2 separate regions of the Homo sapiens genome follow, and region 1 is linked to region 2. Evidence: promoter capture Hi-C in 16 types of primary human blood cells and fetal thymus (Javierre and others, 2016). All regions are on one chromosome and are shown on one strand. The core of a region is centred on a gene start or on the middle of the fragment in contact, and the rest is flanking DNA. Distances in the headings are between cores, read along the strand shown.

Evidence for each region. Contacts are between HindIII fragments. The CHiCAGO score rates a contact against its expected background, and 5 or more counts as called.
Region 1: a contact is called between a fragment that was not itself captured here and the fragment with the promoter of FAM83G in region 2, in 1 of 17 cell types (naive CD4 T cells). The highest score is 5.1, in naive CD4 T cells.

What each region holds. Positions count from the first base shown.
Region 1 is chr17:18,895,076-18,898,785 of GRCh38, reverse strand. All of the region lies in intron 8 of PRPSAP2 (phosphoribosyl pyrophosphate synthetase associated protein 2), which reads right to left. Among named protein-coding and RNA genes, the nearest start is that of PRPSAP2, 39 kb to the right of the region's middle. The HindIII fragment of the contact is 1,815 bases long and covers 435-2,249 here.
Region 2 is chr17:19,002,840-19,006,305 of GRCh38, reverse strand. It overlaps FAM83G (family with sequence similarity 83 member G), which reads left to right and starts at 1,542. Exons shown (of 6, transcript NM_001039999.3): 1 at 1,542-1,597; 2 at 2,137-2,786. The coding sequence starts at 2,265. All of the region lies in intron 9 of SLC5A10 (solute carrier family 5 member 10), which reads right to left. RefSeq lists a silencer at 1,371-1,670. The HindIII fragment of the contact is 3,596 bases long and covers 97-3,466 here.

The DNA.
Region 1 (3,710 bases), core at 93-2,592, 110 kb after region 2:
CAGAGACATAAACCCACAGCTTCAAGAAGTCCAGCAAACACCAAACAGGATAAACCCAAAGCAATCTCAAGATATATCATAATTAAACTTTTGAAAACTAAAGACAAAGAAATAATCTTGAAAAATAATTCATGATAACCAACTTCTCATCAGAAACCACAGTGACCAAAAGAAAGTGACACAAAAACTTTTCAGGTGCTGAGAGAAAAGAACCGTTACTCCAGAATCCTATACCCAGCAACGATGTCCTTCAAGAATGAAAAGGAACTCTAGACATTCTCAAATGAAGGAAAACCAGCAAAATGTGTTACCAACAGAACTATTATTTAAAAGCGGCAAAAGGAGGTACTCTAAACAGAAAGGAAACAATAAACTAAACTTTGGAATATCAGCAAGGAAGAAGGAAACAAAAATACCTGTAAATATAATAAGCTTTTCTTCATTTCTGACTTTTCTAAATTATGTTTGATGTTTAAAAGCAAAAATTCTGGCTGGGTGTGGTGGCTCAAGCCTGTAATCCCAGCACTTTGGGAGGCCGCGGTGGGCAGATTGCGAGGTCAAGAGATGGAGACCACCCTGGCCAACACAGTGAAACCCCATCTCTACTAAAAATACAAAAATTAGCTGGGCGTGGTGGCGCTCGCCTATAGTCCCAGCTACTTGGGAGGCTGAGACAGGAGAATCACTTGAACCCGGGAGGCGGAGGTTACCAAGAGCTAAGATTGCACCACTGCACTCCAACCTGGTGACAGAGCGAGACACTGCCTCAAAAAAAAAAAAAAAAAAAAAAAAAAGCAAAAATTCTAACAGCCTGATACTGCTATAAATGTATGTATAGAAATATTTAAGACAAATATATTAAAAACAGGGGGAGTAAAGAGACACAGAGAGGTATGACTTCTATATTTCACTCAGGCTGATAAAATGACATCAGTATATTGTAATATGTTTTGTATATGTAATAAAATACTTAGAACAACTATTAAAACAGCTATATAAGGTGATATTCAAAACACTATAGAGGGCCGGGCGTGGTGGCTCACGCCTGTAATCCCAGCATTTTGGGAGGCCAAGGCAGGCAGATTACCTGAGGTCAGGAATTCCAGACCAGCCTGGCCAACATAGTGAAAACTCCATCTCTACTAAGAATACAAAAATTAGCTGGGTGTGAAGATGGGAGCCTGTAATCCCAGCTACTCAGGAGGCTGAGACAGGAGAATCGCTTGAACCTGGGAGGTGGAGGCTGCAGTGAGCCAAGATGGCACCATTGCACTCCAGCCTAAGTGACAAGTATAAAAATCCGTCTAAACAACAACAACAACAACAACAACACCACTATAGAGAAGCACCACTCTAGAATGGCAGAATAAGGACCCTAAAAAATCTGCTCCTCCATGAAAGAAAGAAAAACTCTAAAAAATTTTGCAAAAATTAACTTTTACATAACTGTGGAAGTTAACCAACAGCTTGCAACAATCTGAGGAGTGTTTAAGAAAAACAGCTGAATCTTGTTAAAGAGCAAACTTTGGGCTGGGCATGCTGGTTCACGACTATCATCCCAACACTTTGGGAGGCTGAGATGGGCAGATCACTTGAGGCCACGAGTTGGAGACCAGCCTGGGCAATATAGTGAGACCCCATCTCTACAAAAAAAACATGAGAATTAGCCAGGCATGGTGCTGCATGCCTGTGGTCTCAGCTACTTGGGAGGCTGAGGTGGATCACCTGAGCCCAGGAAGTCCAGGCTGCAGTAAACCATAATGATGCCACTGCACTCCAGCCTGGGCATCAGAGTGAGACCCTGTCTCAAAAAAAAGAAACTGTGTGTGTTTTAACTTGCCCCATTCCCATTATTCCATTATTCCCATGCCTCTCTCTCCAGTTCTGCAAAAGACAAAAATTGGAAACCTCATAATCATGGTGGCCATGAGAAACAGAAGACTAGCAACCACTGGTGGGAAAAGAACAGGTTTGGAGCTTCTCAAGAAGCCCATTCTCAGGTAACCATCACTATTATGCCTATCTGGCAGCTTGCTGAGACTCAGGGCTGGAGAATATGATCAAACTTAGAGTCACTCTGTGTGAATAGTCCCATCCCCAGAGTAGATGAGCAATCAACAGCAACTGTTTAACACTGCAGCCGCCTGAAGTGACAATACCAGTTGAGTAAAACAAGGGGCTAGACAAAAAAAAAAAAAAAAAAAAGGAAAATCTGGGGAATGAGATGGCCACATGGGCCTTGAAAAGCTTATTCCTGCATGTAAAGAACATGCGCTTACCCAGGAAGGACCTGAAAAGCCCCTAACCTTGAACCTTGGCTGACCTTAAGGCTCTGTGCAACCAAGAAGTAAAGGCTAAGGCAGAGTTGTAAGCTGCTGGGAGAATTGAAGACATGCACAAACACACACACACAGACCTTGAAGAGAGTGGGAGATTTATTGCTTCAAGGCATTTCAGGAAATCTCTGTCCAATCATTAGCTGGCCAGTAAGCTAACCAACCAGAGACTTCAGTGGCTGAATGCTACAAAGAATACAGACTTTACAGAATTGGCACAGGGTGGCCACTAAACAAACATATCACAGAAACAACAGCAACAACAAACACTGGGAATTGGTGGAGGTAGAATCTGATGCTCAGATTTTTCACATTACATAATTTAAAATGTTGTTTTTAACTAAAATGTACAAGGCATGCAAACAAAAAGGAAAATATGGGCCGGGCATGGTGGCTCACACTTTTAATTCTAGAACTTCAGGAGGCCCAAGGCAGGAAGATTGCTTGAGGCCAGGAGTTTGAGACCAGTCCAGAAACACAGCAAGATCTTGTTTCTGTATTCTTTTTTAAAGTAAGAAGTTTTGGCCAGGCATGGTGGCTCACACCTGTAATCCCAGCATTTTGGGAGGCCAAGATGGGTGGATCACCTGAGGTCAGGAGTTTTGAGACCAGCCCAGCCAACATGGTGAAATCCCGTCTCTACTAAAAATACAAAAATTAGCTGGGTTTGGTGGCACACACCTGTAATCCCAGCTGCTCAGGAGGCTAAGGCAGGAGAATCGCTGGAACCCAGGAGGCAGAGGTCACAGTGAGCTGAGATCATGCCACTGCACTCCAGCCTGGGCAACAGAGCAAGACTCTGTCATAAAATAAAAATAAAAATTAAATTAAATTAAAATAATAAAGTAATAAGTTTTTTTAAACATTAAAAAAAAGAAAAACATGGCCCATACACAGTAAAAAAGCAGTCAACAGAAACGATCTCTGAAAAAGCCCAATGTCAGAATAACTAGACACAATAAATTAGCTATCATAAATATGTTCACAGAACTAAAGAAAACAATGTCTAAAAAATTAAGGGATACCCAAAGAAATGAAATATTTATTTAGGCATAAATATAACAAAATATGGGCTGGAAGTGATGGCTCATGCCTGCAATCCCAACACTGGGAGGCTGAGCCTAGGAGTTAGAGACCAGCCTAGGCAACACAGTCAGACCCCCGTCTCTAACAAAAAATATATATATATTTTTTTAATTAGCCAGGCATGGTGGTGCACACCTATAGTCCTAGCTACTTAGGAGGCTGAAATGAAAGGATTGCCATGAGCCCAAAAATTCAAGGCTGTAGTGAGCTGTGATGGCACCAGTGCACTCCAGTCTGGGTAAACAGAGCAAGACTTTCTCTTTAAAAAAAAAAAAAAAAAAAGTACAC
Region 2 (3,466 bases), core at 293-2,792:
GAGCAATGATTGTACATACCACTGCACTCCAGCCTAGGTGACAGAGCAAGACCCTGTCCCAAAACAAACAAAAAACTGGTGAAATCTAAATAAGCTTTGTGGATTGCACCAGTGTCAATTTTCTGGCTGTGATATTATTGTATTATAGTTATGCAAAACGTCGCTACTGGGGAAAACTGGGTGCATACAACCTTCCTGCTCATCAACTGCAGAAGTGTTGGGGTGGTGGAGGTGGGAGTGAGGCCTTGGACTCCCTTCCTGAACTCTCCAGCCTCTGTGCATTGGTAAGAACACAGGGAGAAGCTGAGGCGGCTCAGAGAAGGTCTTACAGGGGATCCACAGTAGCAGAGGGGCTATAAATGGGTCTTCAGGACCCTCAAGGCAGGGCTCCCCCGCTGGGATCACCTCCCCTCTCTGGCCCTGGGGCAGGAGGAGGATGCAAATATGTGTGCCTGTTCCCCAGGGGCCACTATGTTCAGTAGCATAAAGCCCTTGGGGGGCTATATGGCAGAGTGTAGGACTTCATGCTTGAGGGGTCAGTGATGGGGACCACAAGGATGCTGGGCCTAGGAGGCTAGTCATTGCCCAGGGCAGTGGACTCAGAGGCAAGGAGTCCTGATGGGCCATGAATGGTGGAGAAGGCCTTGGAGGGGGGGGGTTTGAGGGCACAAGGCCTAGAGATGTCACCAGCCTACGGAAGCAGCATCCTTACGGGACCCAAACCAGCCCCATCCAGATCCAGAGCAAGTATGGGGGATGGGAGGAAGGGCTGGGCCTGGTGCCGGGCAGACTGGCTGCGGCACGCGATGGGGTGGGGGCTGTTTGTTGGGCCAGATTTAATGGGCTTTGCTGTCCCACCCTCAAAGCCTGCCTTCAGATGTGGTCTCCACGCTCCCCATAACCAGGGTCCCAACCCCAGGGGACGCTCAGCAGAGAGCTGGGCCTGACCCCAGCCCACAGCGGCCCTCTTGGCCCCTCCCTGCCCTAGGGTTCAGGTCGGGTGCTGCCCGCCACGCAGAAGCAGTCCGGGGACCCCTCCCAGAGGGGATCAGGGCTTAGGACTGAGAACTGGGTATCTGCTCAGGAAAGCCCTGAGTTTGGGTCAGTCAGTGCCCTATCCCTGCCTGGGGGCTCCCAGCCCAGTACCCTAGACCTGTTTCCACAACTGGACAGCTGGGTATCTATACAGCCGCACGGACTTCCCGCCACGCCGGCGAAACTGGGCACAGCCAGGGTTGATCCAGGATCACCAACAGACCCTGGGGGCACAGGGGGGTGCCAAGGCTGTTGACCCGCTGTGTGACCTCAGGGAGAACACTGTCCCTCTCTGGGATGGGTGTTCCAGGAGCTCTTGGGCTTAGGCCTCTGATATTTTCGGAATTCGGGCACCAGGGGACCGTGGGCAGTGCGTCCGCCCCAGGTCTGTCTGTCTGTCGAGGGGTGAATCAGCTTCCGGCCCCGCCCCGGGCGGCACGTGACCGCAGGTGGCGGCGGCGGGGTAAGCGGGGCGGCCCTGAGTCACCGGCGCGCCCCCGCCCAGCCTCGCGCCGCCGCCGCAGCCGCCGCGTGTGCGCCCCGCTCCGCCAGCGCCCGCTCGGTAAGCAAGTCCCGGCCGCGCCCCCCGGATCCCGGGTCTCGCGGGGCGTCGCCGCCCCGCAACCGCGTTTCTGGGTCTCCTGGACCCCTCCCAGAGCCCCAGCCTCCTCCGGGCAGGCCTCCTGGGTTGCCGGCACCCGGAAATTTTAAGACCCCTCCCTTACCCGGAAGCCCTCGGTTTGCGGGGCGCCTCTGTGCCGGGGCCGCCTCCCACTCTAAGAAGCTACTGGGAAGTTCCCCGGCTGCCCTAGTTTCCCTCAGAAGTTGCGAGGACTTCAGGCAGCTCCGGAAATCTGGGATATGGGTTCCCTGCACGTAGAGGCACGCTGAGCCCTGGGACGTGGCCCACCGCTCCCTCACCGCTGTTCCGATCCCTTACTTTCTTCCCATCCCAGTCCAGTGCCCCCACCTCATCTTCCCAGCCCCAGCCCCAGCCCCGTCCTTCCCACGCCCACCTGAGTTCCCGGCCCCGCCCCCGCCGCCCCTCCCCGCGCGGCCCGCCCTCCCCGCCGAGCCGGGCTCATCAGGTCTTTCCCGCAGATTGCTCATGGGCAGAGAAGCAGAGGCCGCGGAGAGGCCCCCGAGCGCGCGGTGCCCCAGCTGGGCCGGAGCTAGGAGCTGGACCTTGCCCACCCACCCCCGGCAGCAGTGCCCGGGCAGGCGGCGCCATGGCCTTCTCTCAGGTGCAGTGTCTGGACGACAACCATGTGAACTGGCGCTCCAGCGAGTCCAAGCCTGAGTTCTTCTACAGCGAGGAGCAGCGGCTGGCGCTGGAGGCCCTGGTGGCCCGCGGCCGGGACGCCTTCTACGAGGTGCTCAAGCGGGAGAACATCCGAGACTTCCTCTCGGAGCTGGAGCTCAAGCGCATCCTGGAGACCATCGAGGTGTACGACCCGGGCTCTGAGGACCCTCGGGGCACGGGCCCCTCTCAGGGGCCCGAGGACAATGGGGTCGGCGACGGCGAGGAAGCCAGCGGGGCGGATGGGGTCCCCATCGAGGCCGAGCCGCTGCCCTCCCTGGAGTACTGGCCCCAGAAGTCGGACCGCTCCATCCCGCAGCTGGACCTGGGCTGGCCCGACACCATCGCCTACCGCGGCGTGACCCGGGCTAGCGTCTACATGCAGCCCCCCATAGACGGGCAGGCCCACATCAAAGAGGTGGTGCGGAAGATGATCAGCCAGGCACAGAAGGTGAGGCAGCGCGGGGACTCCTGGAGCCATGGCCCAACCAGCCACCGGACCCCTCTCAATACAGGCTCACTCAGAGCCCAAAACGGGAGCCCAACATGGGCTTCTAGGGATCTCTGCTGTTTTCCCTGGCTGCCTCTTGGGTGGAGGTTTCCTCCCCACCTTCGTGGGGATCCGCAGTTTCTTTGCAGGGTAGGGTTCCCAGGTCCTAGCAGGTGACAGTGGGCTGCCCCGTCTCAAAGGGCCTCTTTATTGTTGGAGGGTGTTTCTGGTTCCCCAGAAGAAGGCACCGAGATAGGGTGGAGTGGGGAGGGGAGGAACCCCAGGGCTTCCTCTCACTCTCCCTTAGAGTGGCTCTGATTCACTGTAAAGGCGCGCACACACCATGAGCTCTCTGGTGGGGAGAGCTTTTGTTGTGGGGTGAGGGAATAGGCATGGTCCAAGTCCATCTGAGACTGGCCTGGAGGTCCTTGTTCAACACTGCCTGTTTCCTAGCTGTGCTGAGCAACTGGGAGCAGATTGCACACCCTCTCTGAGCCTCTTTGTGAGCTTTGCAATGGTGGAAACTTTCCAGGCCAGGATGCTTGGGTGAGGGAGGTGTGGTCCTCATCTGTGGAAGTGGAGTGAGTCCACCTGAGCATTGTCCACCTGAATTTTGCCACCGGAAGGGACCTCAAGCCTTC